Regions from separate parts of the Homo sapiens genome. Here region 2 is linked to region 1. The links are contacts of gene promoters, found by promoter capture Hi-C in human tissues and cell types (Jung and others, 2019). All regions are on one chromosome and are shown on one strand. Each heading gives the region's core, a stretch centred on a gene start or on the middle of the fragment in contact. The rest is flanking DNA. Distances are from core to core; before and after follow the strand shown. Region 1 holds the start of COG8 (component of oligomeric golgi complex 8). Region 2 overlaps WWP2 (WW domain containing E3 ubiquitin protein ligase 2).

Region 1 (7,381 bases), core at 4,760-7,259:
TAAGCCCCGAGGTTTCAGAAAGCTAGAACCACTGGAAAACTGTAAGAAAACAGCTAGGAAAGAGAAGTTTCAAAACCAACAGAGCAGCCTAGCTGACACTACAGATATGTGGCATAGCGACAGGGTAAGAACACAGACTCTGATGCTGGACTTCCCAAGTTCAAGTGACTCACACCTGTAATCCCACACTTTGAGGGTCTGTAGCAGGAGGATCACTTGAGTCCAGGAGTTTGAGACCAGCCTAGGCAACATAGGGAGACACTATCTCTCTGTAAAATAAAACACTTTTAACAATAAAAATAAAAGAATATGCTAAAGGTAAAGGGTTTTGTAGATGTAATTAAAGTCCCTAATCATCTGACTTAATCAAATGAAGTTTTTAAAAGGAGGTACCTAAAAGAAGAGACTCAAGAGAGTAGCTCTCCTGCTGGCCTTGAGGAAGCAAACAGCCATGTTGTCAGCTGCCTATGGAGTGGACAGCCTCTAGGAGCTGAGGCTTCAGTTCTGCAATTGCAAAGAACTGACCCCTGCCAACTTGCATGAGTCTGAAATGGAGCCCCAACCTCCAGATGAGGCCATAGTCCAGCCAACACCTTGATGGCAACCCTGTAAGACCCTGAGCAGAGAGGACCCGGTTGTGCTGTGCCTGGACTCCTGACCCACCAAAACTGGAAGGTAATAAATGTGTTGCTGGAAGCTACTAAGTTTGTGGAAATTTGTTATGCAGCACTAGAAAGCTAATACGTGTATTACCGAATTGTTACTATAGGCAAATCACTTCATGGACTGTCCTAGGTCCCATGAAGGGCAACTGGCCAGAGCTTCTCAATCAGGAGAACCTCCAAAACCACACTAGACCTCTCCATGTCAGCAGACACCGTCAAATAGACGGGTTTATTACAAAAATCTGGCCACCCATTACCAGAGAAGGCCCAGGGTAGCAGAAAACCAACAGAATGTGCTCACCTTGGCAAGGGCATCTTCCAAGGCCCCAGTCACATCCTGCGCCAGGGCCACAGGGCAGCAGAGGCGCAGATCATTGAAGGCAACCAGAATATTGTTGAGAAAGCAGGCGAGGGGTGGGAAATCTAGGAGCACCATGGGTGGCTGCAGCGTCCCCGGCTGGGTGGCTGGCACAGCAGCAGGCATGTTACTGGTGCCCAGGATGGCTGGAGCCGAGATGAGCATGTAGGAGTTCATTTCTTCCTGGAATTTCTCCACTGTTTCCTGAATTGCTTTCTGGAAAGTGCTGATGGCCACCCGCTGGAAAACAGGAGCCAACTGACCCCGGAAATCAGCTCCCACCCGGCTGAAGGACAGCCCAAAGTACATGCACTGGCCCAGCAGAGAGTCCAGGTGGCCGCCTATGCCCCGGTAAAGGTCGGTCTCCAGCACCTGCAGGAATTGTGAGACCTTCTGTAGCACCCAGCCATGGAAGATGGCACTCTCATTCACAGTGTGCTCACCCATGGCAGGGGGCAGCAGTGGGTCCTCGTCTGAGAAGATGGCACGGTACTGGGTGATGATATCAAAGAGATGGACACGGGAGGCCTCGATGGTTTTTGTAATATGGAAATAGGGATCATCATTAGGAATGGCAGTCAGGATGGACCGGAGCCAAGCATCTCGGGCCTGAAGAAACTTCACCCTCAACTCAGCCTCAGTGAAGACGTCCATGCGCCGCAGGTAGCCAATGACACGGAGGCAGGCAGGAAGCTGGATGTTGGTCCTCAGTTGCTGGATCAGCTGGCTCAGCATCAGCTGCATGGACTGGCGCACTTCGTTCACGATGCCCTGACAATACACAGAGAGAGTCACACTGCGCTGGGAAGGATGCTCTCTAGAACCCATTCCCCTAACTCTGAAGACTGCAGACCAACATTCCCATGGCTTTCCTGAAATGTGAAGTAATTTCCTAAAGCTGATGCCTGTAGGTTCACCAACAAAGATCAGGTTAGTTAACTCTCTTGCTTAAAAAGCTTAAAACCTGGCCAGGTGCAGTGGCTCAAACCTGTAATCCCAGCACCGTGGGCAGGCAGGTCACTTGAGGTCAGGAGTTTGAGACCAATCTGGCCAACATGTGAAACCTCGTCTCTACTAAAAATATAAAAATCAGGTGGGTGTGGTGGTGCAGGCCTGTAATCCCGGTTACTCGGGAGGCAGAGGCAGGAGAATCACTTGAACCCGGGAGATAAAGGTTGCAGTGAGCCAAGGTCGCACCACTGCACTCCAGCCTGGGGGACAGAGCGAGACTCTGTCTCAAAAAAAAAAAAGAAAAAAAAAAAAGCTTAAAATCCTCCAGTGACTTCCCACTGCAATCAAGAAAATTCCAACCACTTGTTGGGACTTACACTGGTGGCCCTACCTGGCTCTCCATCTTCACCTGCTTCCTAGTGCTCTCCCGCTGCTACAATCCATTAACCCTGGCTGCCTCTGTATCCCTTAAACACCTCAATTTCTGCCCACTTCAGCCCTCTCTACTTGTTCTTCACACTTTCTGGTTTGCTCTCTCCCCAGATCTTTGTGGGCTGGCACCTCCTTCTCATTTAGGTCTCAGCTTAAATGTTACCTCCCTAGAAGAGTCCTTCTTGATCACCCTACCTAAAGAAACCTACCCTAGACTCCCTTACCCCATTCCCTGTTTTTTTCTTCAGACACCACTATCTGAAATGATATCATTTCTTTGTCAATTATCAGACTTCCCATTAGCACGTAAGCTGCATGAGAGCCAGGACCACTTTATTCACACTGTATCCCCAGCATATAGAGCAGTGCTTGGCACATGATTAATATGTATTTTGAATAAATGAATGTTTTCTGTTCAGGCATACCTGGCTGGCAGAAACTGATGTGAAACATGCAAGAGTTTCTACCTAAAGCTTCAGTCCTGACCACAGAATAAATGATTACAAGAACATTACTTTGAGTCCTCTCTGGGCAAGGTGGCTACCTGGATGACAGGGATGGAAGAGTATTTCCTCTCCAGTCGGCGTACGTAGGCTGCAAGCTCCAGGGCCTCTTCATAATAACTGTTCCGGACACAGGTGTCCATGAGCTGAGGAATCTCCAGTATTTCCAAAATTTCTGTGTGCCGGTTTAGGGTCAGGCTATTCATCCGGCGGTTGGAGCTGATCTCCTCGGCTTCCTTCACAAAGTTCCTAGTAATAATCAGAAGAATGTTGATCCTTCACTGCTCTGTACCCAAACCTTAGCTACAGTTACCAAGTACCTGCTATGAACATTGGGCTGGATGATCTATCTGATTTATTCCTCACACCCCACCTATAAGGTAAGTATTATTACAATTGAGGAAATTTTTAATCCCAGAGAGGTTAAGCAACTTGTCCAAAAACATACAATTAATAAATCTAACAGATGGAGATCCAGATATGCCACTTGCTGGCTGTGGCAAGGTACTTGGCCTCTCTGAACCTATTTCCTCATTAGTAAAACGGTATATAGGGCCAGGCGCAGTGGCTCACGCCTGTAATCCCAGCACTTTGGGAGGCTGAGGTGGGCGGATCACTTGAGGCCAGGAGTTCAAGTGAAACCCCATCTCTACTAAAAATACAAAAAATTAGCCAGGCATGGTGGTGCGCGCCTGTAGTCCCAGCTACTCAGGAGGCTGAGGCAGGAGAATCACTTGAACCCAGGAGGTGGAGGTTGCGGTGAGCAGAGATGGCGCCACTGCACTGCAGCCTGGCCAACAAAGCAAGACTCCGTCTCAAAAAAAAAAAAAAAAAAAGTATATAGGACCCTCCTCATAAGGGTGTAAGAACTAAATGAGATGATGTGTGTGAAGCATTTAACATAGAACTTGAAACAGAGCGAATGCGTCAAAGTAAAAATAGTAAAAGAGACACAGTTAAATATTTAACAGTAGCTATCATTATTTTCAAAATGAAGCACTAACTGCCTAGAATCCACAATCTTTCCCCTCAGGTCTTCATCTTCTCCTATGCTAATGTTCAACCATAGTTCCTGCCACAGTCTACTTTCAACACTTCTCCATATTTGCAGAGACCTGCTTTATCAAGTCCCCTATCTATTCTGGAGCATGGAAGGGTACAAAAGCTGCTGTCAAATATCCAAAGGCTCAAAAGAAAAATTAAACTTTAATCATGAAAGGCTGGAAGGCAGAACTAGGGATAATGGAGACAGAATATGACTCACAAAGGACTTTTTTTTTTTTTTTTGAGACGGAGTCTTGCTCTGTCACCAGGCTGGAGTGCAGTGGCACGCATCATCTTGGCTCACTGCAACCTCCGCTTCTCAGGTTCAAGTAATTCTCCTGCCTCAGCCTCCCGAGTAGCTGGGACTACAAGCGCGTGCCACCACGCCCAGCTAATTGTATTTTTAGTAGACATGGGGGTTTCAGCATGTTAGCCAGGATGGCCTCGATCTCTTGACCTCGTGATCCGCCTGCCTTGGCCTCTCAAAGTGCTGGGATTACAGGTGTGAGCCACCGCACCCAGCCTTTTTTTCTTTTTTTAAGAGAGTTTCACTTTGTCACCCAGTCTGGAATGCAGTGGCACAATCACAGCCCACCGCAGCCTCGACCTCCCAAACTGGAGTGCGGTGGCACAATCATGGCTCACTGCAGCCTCAATCTCCCGGGCCCAACTGACCCCCCCACCTCAACCTCCTGTGTACCTGGGACTACAGGCGCACGCCACCACGACCAGCTAATTTTTTATTTTATAGAGACAGGGTTTTGCCATGTTGGCCAGGCTGCTCTCGAACTCCTGGGTTCAAGCCTCAGGCTCCCAAAGTGCTGGGATTACAGGCTGAGCCACCACATCCAGCCATCCAAATGGAGAGACTTTTTGATATCTGATGCCCTCAAATGCGAGGATTTCCTTGTCACCTTCCCGTCAATGGAAGTTTTGAAGCAGATGACCTCCGGTCCACGCTTTCGTATAAAATAAGTATATAAATGTGCACATATATTCAGCTCACACCTATAATGTTAACTGTGTCAGACCCGATAATAAGAGCTTTGCATGAATCCTTTTTCTTTGTGCCCACAACTGCCCTTCGAGGGAGGGACGTGCTTCTGGGTAACCAGTTCTGAATTCGAAACCTCCTAGCTGTGTCCTTGGACGTCACTAATCTCTGTCTTGACTTGCTCATATGTAAAATGGAAATAACAGGGCTGGGCGCAGTGGATTATGCCTGTAATCCCAGCGCTTTGGGAGGCCGAGGCGGACAGATCACGACATCAAAAGATCGAGACCATCCCAGCCAACATGCTGAAACCCCGTCTCTACTAAAAATCCAAAAAAATTAGCTGGGCGTGGTGGCGCGCGCCTATGGTCCCTGCTACTCAGGAGGCTGAGGCAGGAGAATCGCTTGAACCCAGGAGGCAGAGGTAGGTTGCAGCGAGCCGAGATCTCGCCACTGCACTCCAGCCTGGCGACAGGGCGAGACTCCGTCTCAAAAAAGATAAAAAAGGAATAACAGTACCTATCTCGAAGGCTGTTGTGAGGTTTAAATGGATTAATAAAGCGCTCAGCAGAGAACCTGGAACGTGGTAAACGCTTTATGTGTTAGTTATTTCTACCATCGTAAATGTCAGCTTTTACAGTTATAAAACCCCTTTAGCGCCAGGCGCGTCGCACCTGCAGCTCTGCTGGAAGCTGGGCAAACGGTCGAGCAGGCGGCCGAGCGACGCCTCCACGTCGCCAAACAGGCGGTGGATGCGCTCGGTGCACTCGGCGCCGCGGATGAAGGTCTTGTAGTTAGCGAAGGCCAAGTCGCGCGTCTGCTGCAGCAGCTGCGCCCGCTCCTCCGCCAGGCGCTCGGGCTCGCGCCGCAGCCGCTCCAGCCCCGAGCCGCTCAACTCCCGGAGGTAGCGGCCCACATCGGGCCGCTCGCGCCACTGGGCCTCGGGGAAGCGGTCCCGGAACAGCGACGCCAGGAGCCCTTCATCCTCCACCTCGCCGAGAGCCGCTGCTGTGGCCGTGGCTACCGATGGGATAGTCGCCGCGGTCGCCATCTTCCCAGCAACAACGTCACTTCCCTTCCGGACCACAAGGGGCGCTGACTCCGAACTTAGGACAGGAAGAAACAGGCACATTTCCGGTCTCTATGCTTTCTCATCCGGCCGGCTTGCTTTCCCCTGCGGTCGTCCAGACTATTGGGCGCTAGCGAGACGAACTATTGGTACGGGGCTAGAGAGGAAGGCTTTGGGATTGCCGGGGAGCAGCGAGCGACCGACTTCCGTTTCCAGTTACCAAGGCACGAGGATCCGGTGTTCCAACCCAGGGGGAAAAATGCGGCCTTTGACTGAAGAGGAGACCCGTGTCATGTTTGAGAAGATAGCGAAATAGTAGGAGCGCGCGGGGCGGACGCGGGAGTGTGTGGGTGTGGTGGCCAAGGGTGGAGTGGGGGCGCGGTGCCGGAGACCGGTTCGTTCGGGCGCGGTCTCCAGTCCTCTTTTTGCCCTCAGCATTGGGGAGAATCTTCAACTGCTGGTGGACCGGCCCGATGGCACCTACTGTTTCCGTCTGCACAACGACCGGGTGTACTATGTGAGGTGAGGCGGGGCCGGGCAGGCAGCATGGACCCAGGGGAGAGGGGTCCTGGGTCCCACGAGCCTCCTTCATCCGCAACCTTGCTCCCCCTTTACCCTTTTAGTGAGAAGATTATGAAGCTGGCCGCCAATATTTCCGGGGACAAGCTGGTGTCGCTGGGGACCTGCTTTGGAAAATTCACTAAAACCCACAAGTTTCGGTTGCACGTCACAGCTCTGGATTACCTTGCACCTTATGCCAAGGTTTGTGGGGCGGTTTCCAATTCTGCCACGGGCGATGAAGTCAAGGATTAGGCAGATTGTCCGGCAGCTTCTCTCCCACAGAGTCCCTGACAGTGTGCTTGGAGGAGTTTCAGCACATGGAGATGTGTAGAGGTCTTGCAGCTTGAGCATGGTCAGGGCTATGGGATAGGAATGCTATGTGGCTGCGTAGGGTTAGTTTTCTCCAGCGAAGTAGAAGAGCCTAGGGAGACCCAGCTAGAGATCAGAAAGCAAATAAGTGGCAGCAATGAAGACACCGGGGTCCAGAAAAAGAGCTGTTAACCTGGCCATGGAGGATGATCCTTGTAGAGTTGAGAAAATAACTTTTTCTATTTTTTTCTTTTTCTTTCTTGCTCTGTTTTTTCTTTTCATTTCTCTTTCTCTTTCTTCCTGACACAGTTTCACTCTGTCGCCCAGGCTAGAGTGCAGTGGTGCGATCTCACTGCAGCCTCCACTTTCCAGTTTCCAGTGATTCTTGTGCCTCAGTAGCTGGGATTACAGGCATGTGCCACCACACCTGGCTGATTTTTTTGTGTGTTTTTAGTAGAGACAGTGTTTCACTGTGTTGGCCAGGCTGGTCTCGAA
Region 2 (7,381 bases), core at 3,254-5,753, 520 kb after region 1:
AGTTTAACATCATGGACTAGTCCTCTCTAGAAACATTTTGTGCCTTGGTTTCTATAATAATGCAGAATCCCAGAGTGTTCCTTTTTTCCCTTGGTTTTATTGATTTTTATTACTTAAAAAATGAGTTTGATTCATGCGAAAAATATGTATAAATGTATCATATAAGAGCCGGTTGCAGTATTAAATAGGGCAGTCAAGAGAGGTGTTGTTGAGAAGGTGACTTTTAAGCAAAGATTTGAAGGAGGCAAGGAATGTAACCATGAGGATATCTGGGGAAAGAGAGTTTGGGCAGAAGAATGGCTGTTGGAAAGGCCTTAAGTTAGGAATGTGCCTTTGGAGTTGAAGGAACAGTGGAGAGGCCAGTCCCACTGGAGAGGAAGGGGAAGTGGAGTCATAGGAAGAGATGACACTGGTAAAGGGTGGTGCCAGATCATTCTGATGAATTTCTGCTTTATGTATTTCGAGGTTATTTCATTGGATCTAGAGTACAATTTGACATATGTCTTATGGATGAATAGAACGTTTTGGCCTTATCTTGTTATTCTTGTTTTTAGTGCTTTTTCTCTTAAAATTTATTTGGTCTGAAGCCAGGCACAGTGGTATGTGCCTATAGTCCCAGCCACTGGGGAGGCTGAGCTGGGAGGATTGCTTGAGTCCAGGAGTTCGAGTCTAGCCTGGGCAGCATAACAAGACTCCCATCTCTAAAAAAGATGTATATTTATTTGGTCTGACAAATAAAAAGTAACTTAACAACGTGAATGACTCTTAAAAGTATTAGGCTAAGCTTAAGAAGCCAGACATAGAAGCTTATGTTCTATATGATTCCATTTATATAACATCCTGGAAAAGGCAAAATTCTAGGGACAGAAATCCAATCTGAAGATGTGGGGGCATTGGAGGAGGGATTGACTGCAAAGGGGCACAAGGAAATTTTGGGAGCAATGGGAATGTTCTATGTCTCAGTTGTGGTGATGGTAACACCACTATAAACATTTGGTAAAACTTGCCAAATTGTACCCTTAGAAAGGGTAAATTTTACTCTATGTAAATTATACCTTAATTTTAAAAATCATTAAAAGACCCATTTGGTGGCCAGGTGCGGTGGCTCACGCCTGTAATCCCAGCACTGTGGGAGACTGAGGTGGGTGGATCACGAGGTCGGGAGATCGAGACCATCCTGGCCAACATGGTGAAACCACATCTCACTAAAAATACAAAAATTAGCTGGGTGTGGTGGCATGTGCCTGTAGTCTCAGCTACTCGGGAGGCTGAGGCAGGAGGATTGCTTGAACTTGGGAGGTGGAGGTTGCAGTGAGCTGAGATCACGCCACTGCACTCCAGCCTGGGTGACAGAGGGAGACTCTATCTCAAAAATAAAAAATAAAAAAAAAATACAACAACAACAACAAAACCCGTTTGGTGTGACGTTAACCTAACTATCCCAGCTTCCTTTTGTTTTGTGTCCACTTGGCATATTTTTTTCCCTATTCATTTCATTTTAACCTATTTGGTACTTATATTTTAGGTAGTGTTTTTTTGTAACAGCATTTAACTAGAGTTTTAAAAAACCATATGATTTTAAACTGTCACAGTTCATTTATGTTTCTCGTGATTCTTGATATCTTTAGAGTTGTTTTCTTCCTCTTGTTAATTTCTGTCTGTCCTACAGTTTCTGTTTCCCATCTTTGACTAACTTTCCACTTTTTTTACTTTTTTTGAGACAGAGTCTCACTCTGTCGCTCAGGCTGGAGTGCAGTGGCGCCATCTCGGCTCATTGCAACCTCTGCCTCTGGGGTTCAAGCGATTCTCCTGCCTCAGCCTCCCGAGTAGCTGGGCGCGCTCCACCACGCTCAGCTAGTTTTTGTATTTTTAGTAGAGATGGGGTTTCACCTGTTGGCCAGGCTGGTCTCGAACTCCTGACCTCGTGATCCACCTGCCTTGGCCTCCCAAAGTGCTGGGATTACAGGTGTGAGCCACCACGCCTGGCGTAACTTTCCACTTTCCACTGTGTTTGGTCTGCCTTTTCAAGAAAAGTCTTGATGGGTTGAAGGTATCTTTGGCTCCCTGACTATTTGATAATGGAGTGTGAAATTCTGCATCCAGTGGTGTGAAGAGAGCAAGAGCTCATTGACTGGCTCCCGGCCTGAAGGTTTTCTGTTTGGCCTTATGCTGAGTTTTATATACAGCATGTCTATATTTTGGGTCTACTTTGTGTGTTTTGTGTTTTCAAATGGCCTTTGAAGGTCAACTCTTTTTTTTTTTTTTTTTTTTTTTTGAGACAGGGTTTCGCTCTGTCACCCAGGCTGGAGTGCAGTGGCACAATCACAGCTCACTGCAGCCTCGACCTCCCAGGCTCAAGTGATCTTCCCACCTCAGTCTCCCAGGTAGCTGAGACTACAGGTGTGCGCCACCATGCCTGGCTAATTTTTAAATTTTTTTTTGTAGTGACAGTGTCTTCCTGTGTTGCCTAGTCTGGTCTTGGATCCTCTTTCCTCAGCCTCCCAAAGTGTTGGGATTATAGGCGTAAGCTACCGCATCCGGCCTAACAGTACAACTCTATAACGACAAAATGACACAAAGAAAATTTAATGAAATTAGTGAAAACCTAGAGTAGGATGTGGTGCAGATACTCATTATTTTGTAGTGGAGAATGGGAGATTAGGGCCCGGTTGGTTTTGTTCCTTTTCTTTGAAATTTTACCTTTAGAACCAGTAAAAAAAAAAAGTTTTCTTTTAAATAAAGTTATACATTTTTCTTTACACTTAGAAAAAGGATGATGAATTGGAGACTTCCGAGGAGTTATTTCTTCCACCTGGTTTGTGGTTTTTTTGGGGAGGAAGGGGCTTGGGGGAAGTGGTGCTGAAGCTTTCACTCAAACACCAGGCCACGGCTCTGTGTGCCTCATTCATCTTTGTGTCCCCAGCAGGACCTAGAATAGTGCCTCACTGCACGTAGTAGCAGCTCAATAAATATTTGCTGAGCTGAAAGAGTCTCGTGTTCCTGCTCTTCATTCGCCAAAACTTCTGGGTGGGTCATGTTGCTGGTTTACGTTCCCTGGCGCCTTGACTCCTGAGATGCGATAATTTGAGGACCACAGAGAAGAGGGGGCGCCCTTTATCACAGCCGCCTTGTGCTTGCAAGGTGAACCACCAAGAGTGTGCTGGGGTCCCACTGCCTGCACAGTCTCTGTGGCTTCATCTGTTTTTTTCTTCATGATTGATATTTCTGTGTTGAATGCTTTTCACCGACTGTTCTTTTCAAATCCTTGCAGCTTTTAAGGTTAGTATTGGAATCAGAGAAGAATTGACACATAAATAAGTCTTGTTTGGGAAAAGAAGGTGTAAAGTCCGTGTACTTCAACTCTGCCAGAAAAGAATGTTACTTACCCTCTAAGAATAGGTAATATCTCATTTATACTAGGTGTTCAAATTCCCAAGTGATTATTGAATCTTAGGATTGAGTGTCTCCTTGAGGACATTAGGATCACTGGAATGCTGCTCCTTCGACATGGGCACTGGATCCCACAGAGTGATGCCATAACTGTATGAGGGCTGCTGAACTAGACCAGCAAGAACTGGGTCAAGGCTGTTCCCTAGTCATGCATGTATTTGAGAGTTCCATCTTCTACTGTGGAAATTGAATTGTCATTTATTTGCATTCATTTTCTATTGCTCTGTAACAAATCACCACAAACTCAGGGCTTAAAACAACACCATTTATTAGCTCACAGTTCTGTAGGTCATAAGTCCAGGATCACACGGCTGACTTTTCCCTTCAGGGTCTCACAAGGCCAAAATCAAGGCTCTGGCAGGACAACATTCTTATCTGCATACACTGGGGAAGAATTCATATCAAAGGTCATTCAGGGCTGGGCACAGTGGCTCACGCCTGTAATTCCAGCACTTTGGCAGGCTGAGGTGGGCAGATGGCTTGAGTACAGGAGTTTGAGACCAGCCTAAGCAACATAGCCAAACCCCATCTCAACAAAAAAAATACAGAAATTAGCTAGGCATGGTGGCGCATGCCTGTCATCCCGGTTACTCAGGAGGCTGAGGCGGGAGGATCGCTTGAGCCCAGGGAGGTCGAGGATGCAGTGAGCTGTGATTGCACCACTGCACTCCAGCCTGGGCGACAGAGGGAGACCCTGTCTCAAAAAAAAAGAAAAAGAAAAAAAAAGTCATTCAGGTCCTTAGCTGAATTTAGTTATTTGCAGTTGTAGGACTGAGGTGCCCATTCCTTGCTGACCATCAGCGGGGGTCCCTCTCAACTCCTTAAGCTTCCCCCTGGCCCCGACCCCTGCATTCCTTCTCACGGTGCCCCCTCCACCTTCGAGCCAGGAAAGGAGTGTCAGATCTCCCTGTGATTTGAATCTCTCTGATTTTCTCTCCTGCCACCTGCTGGAGAAGGCGCTCTGCTTCCAGGAGGTGATGTGATGCTAATTAGACTGAGAGAGCACCGCCCCCCACCCCCGCCCCGCCCGATGATCCCCTTTCTTAAGGTCTGCTGTGGTACACGACGACATACTTGACGACATACTCAAGGGTGTGGCACCTTGTCATATTCACAGGTTTTAGGCATTGGAGGGGGGCTAGAGTGAGAGGGATGTCATTTTAGAAATTCTCCCCACAGTAGAAAGACTCTCTCTAATGGGCCAGCCATGGTGGCTCAGACCTGTAATCCCAGCACTTTGGGAGGCCGAGGTGGGAGGATCACTTCACCTTAGGAGTTCAAGACCCCCATCGCTATAAAAAAAAATCAAAAAAATTAGCCAGGCGTGGTGGTCCGATTCCATTCTTTAAAGGAGTCGGGGAGGTGATGAGTGACTGGATTGGAAAGAATATGCAAAGTACTGGAGGTTACAGGCCCAAGAGTGATTTTGAACCTGACAGCTTGCATCTTTCCTTCATTCAACAGATATTTCCTGAATCCTACTGTGGGCCAGGCACACACTAGGTGCTGAGTCTCCAGAGGTTCACAAAACAAGACATGATCTCTGCCCTCATGAATGTGTAGTGACACATAGCAGTGCCATAAAGGGAACAATTAGGATGTTATGAGAGAATGAAAGGAAATTTACTGTAGCCTGGGAGATGAGGGACATTTGGACTGAGATTTGGCCTAGGAATTTGGCCACCTGGGTGGAAAGTCCAGGAAGAGAATGCCGGGCAAGTAGATCAGCAAAGGGTCTGACTCTCCCTTGGTAGGGGTCTAGAGAGGTATTTTGAGGGATGTCCATTGAACATATTCTTTTTGGAGCCTGCCTCCGTCCTGCTGAATTCCTGCCTTGTGATTTGTCGTGTCAGAACACTTAGAAATAATGCTCTACCCAGCTCATGCCTCTAATCCCAACACTTTGGGAGGCCGAGGCTGGAGGATTGCTTGAGGCCAGGAGTTTGAGACCAGCCAGGACAACATAGCAAGACTCGATCTCTAGTTAAAAAAAAAAAAAGGAAAGAAAGAACACTCTAATATACTGTAGTCCCCCATTCATTCAAGGTCCTGTGTAGTCCTTTCTGGTCTGGAGCTATAGTAAAAGGAGGCAGTGAGTGGGCCAGATTCAAACAGGGAATGATGCCAGTAGCGAGAAAGTGAAGAGGCTTTTCTGGCGCACCTGTACAGGTTGTGCTCTGCATTCCTTGGGGGCCAGCCCCATGGAGATTCCTCCTGTGCACAGTGGAGGTTGATGGGGATGCTCATCTCCTAAGCGGCAACAGTGTCCTATGCACTCATAATTCAGGGTCAGGGGATCTCAGGTCATAGGACAAATCACAGGCTGCTGTCTCTGTTCAGGGTACCTCAAGCCATCAATGGCCACGTTGAGCAGGTGAACACTTCCCCTCTGAACTCTCTAGCTCTCTTTGAAGTTTGGGAGGGCATTTGAGCACTCTTCTCAGCTAAGCCCAACATACGGCCTGGAAGTAGATTGGACAAGTCACCATTTACTATACCTTCTCTCTCAAGGTGAGTTTTTTTAGTCTAATGAAATTGCCACCTTTGAGAAGGTTGCTCTGTACTCTAGGGTGCGCAAAAGGAAATTGTTTGTCTTCCGGAAGTCTTTCTGTAATTTAGAATGGACTTGGCAGCGATTTTATTTTTACCTTCCCTGTCATTTGTGAGGCTGGCAGTCCAGAGGTAGGGTGTGGAATGGAGCCGTAAATTGCGCTTGCAGTGACCAGAAGGGGCCCATTTTAACTCTAATTGTGCCTTTCCCGGTTCACTTCTCCTTTTACCCGCCCTCTCCTTTTTTTTTTTTTTTCTAATCCACATTTGAGTGGGGAGGAAGAATTGAGGGGGGTGCAGGTGGGAGTAGGTTTATTTATTGGCGCTTCTCTGGGTGGTGGACACTGTTTCTTTTCCCATTACGGCTTCCTTTTTTATTTTTTCATGCTTCTATTTTAAGTGCCTGTTTCTTTCTGGTTCTGTCTTGCTGGAAACTGGCCCAGCTCCACTGAATTTTTTTTTCCATGCAGCTATTAAAAGACAATGACCAGTTAAGAGTGTGCTCAGAGGAAGGACAGACTTGAGGTGGGGAGCCCTCTTGGTTCTAGTAATCCTAGGCAAATACCGCTTACCCGGATTGGAATGTGAGAGGAGTTTTATTAGGTAATTTTACTTTTTGTGCCTGTTTTATAGGAGGAAAATCAATAATCAGGTTGTTTTGTTTTGTTTGTTTGTTTTGAGACAGACTTTCGCTCTTGTTGCCCCGGCTGGAGTGCAATGGTGTGATCTCGGCACACTGCAACCTCAGCCTCCAGGGTTCAAGTGATTCTCTTGCCTCAGCCTCCTGAGTAGCTGGGATTACAGGCATTCGCCACCATGCCCGGCTAATTTTGTATTTTTAGTAGACACGGGATTTCTCCATGTTGGTCAGACAGGTCTGGAAGTCCCGACCTCAGGTGATCCACTCACCTCGGCCTCCCAAAGTGCTGGGATTACAGGCGTGAGCTACCGCGCCTGGCCCTTGTTTTGTTTTTTTGAGATGGAGTCTCGCTGTGTCACCTAGGCTGGAGCGCAGCAGCAGGATCTCTCTCAGCTCACTGCAGCCTCCATTCCCCAGGCTGGTCTCGAACTCCTGACCTCAGGCAATCCAACCACCTCGGCCTTCCAAAGTGCTGGGATTACAGGCATGAGCCACCATGCCTGGCCAGTAATCAGTTTTTATACCTTGAAACTTCTCTTTTGCTGAACTTGAATACCAGTGGGCCTGAATCTGGGGTCAATGAACCTCCCTTTCATATTCTGGGCCTCTTTTACCAAGATAGAAAAGTATGCTTGGAACCTGGTATCCAGCCAGCCATGAATTCTTTTTTTTTTTTTTTTTTTTTTTTTTGGAAACAGGGTCTCTTGCTCTATTGCCCAGGATAGAGTGTAGTGGTGTGAG

What was found. Contacts are between HindIII fragments. The study calls those that stand out against the background at their distance.
Region 2: a fragment that was not itself captured here is called in contact with the fragment with the promoter of COG8 in region 1 in 2 of the 25 tissues and cell types used here (dorsolateral prefrontal cortex and lymphoblastoid cells).

The regions. Positions count from the first base shown.
Region 1 is chr16:69,333,555-69,340,935 of GRCh38, forward strand. It overlaps COG8 (component of oligomeric golgi complex 8), which reads right to left and starts at 6,010. Exons shown (of 6, transcript NM_032382.5): 1 at 5,622-6,010; 2 at 2,951-3,158; 3 at 967-1,794. The coding sequence starts at 5,998. It overlaps NIP7 (nucleolar pre-rRNA processing protein NIP7), which reads left to right and starts at 6,218. Exons shown (of 5, transcript NM_016101.5): 1 at 6,218-6,331; 2 at 6,452-6,538; 3 at 6,640-6,778. The coding sequence starts at 6,276. RefSeq lists silencers at 5,687-5,736, 5,747-5,796 and enhancers at 6,217-6,336, 6,517-6,596. The HindIII fragment of the contact is 18,932 bases long and covers 2,584-7,381 here.
Region 2 is chr16:69,855,405-69,862,785 of GRCh38, forward strand. All of the region lies in intron 6 of WWP2 (WW domain containing E3 ubiquitin protein ligase 2), which reads left to right. Among named protein-coding and RNA genes, the nearest start is that of MIR140, 74 kb to the right of the region's middle. The HindIII fragment of the contact is 7,416 bases long and covers 796-7,381 here.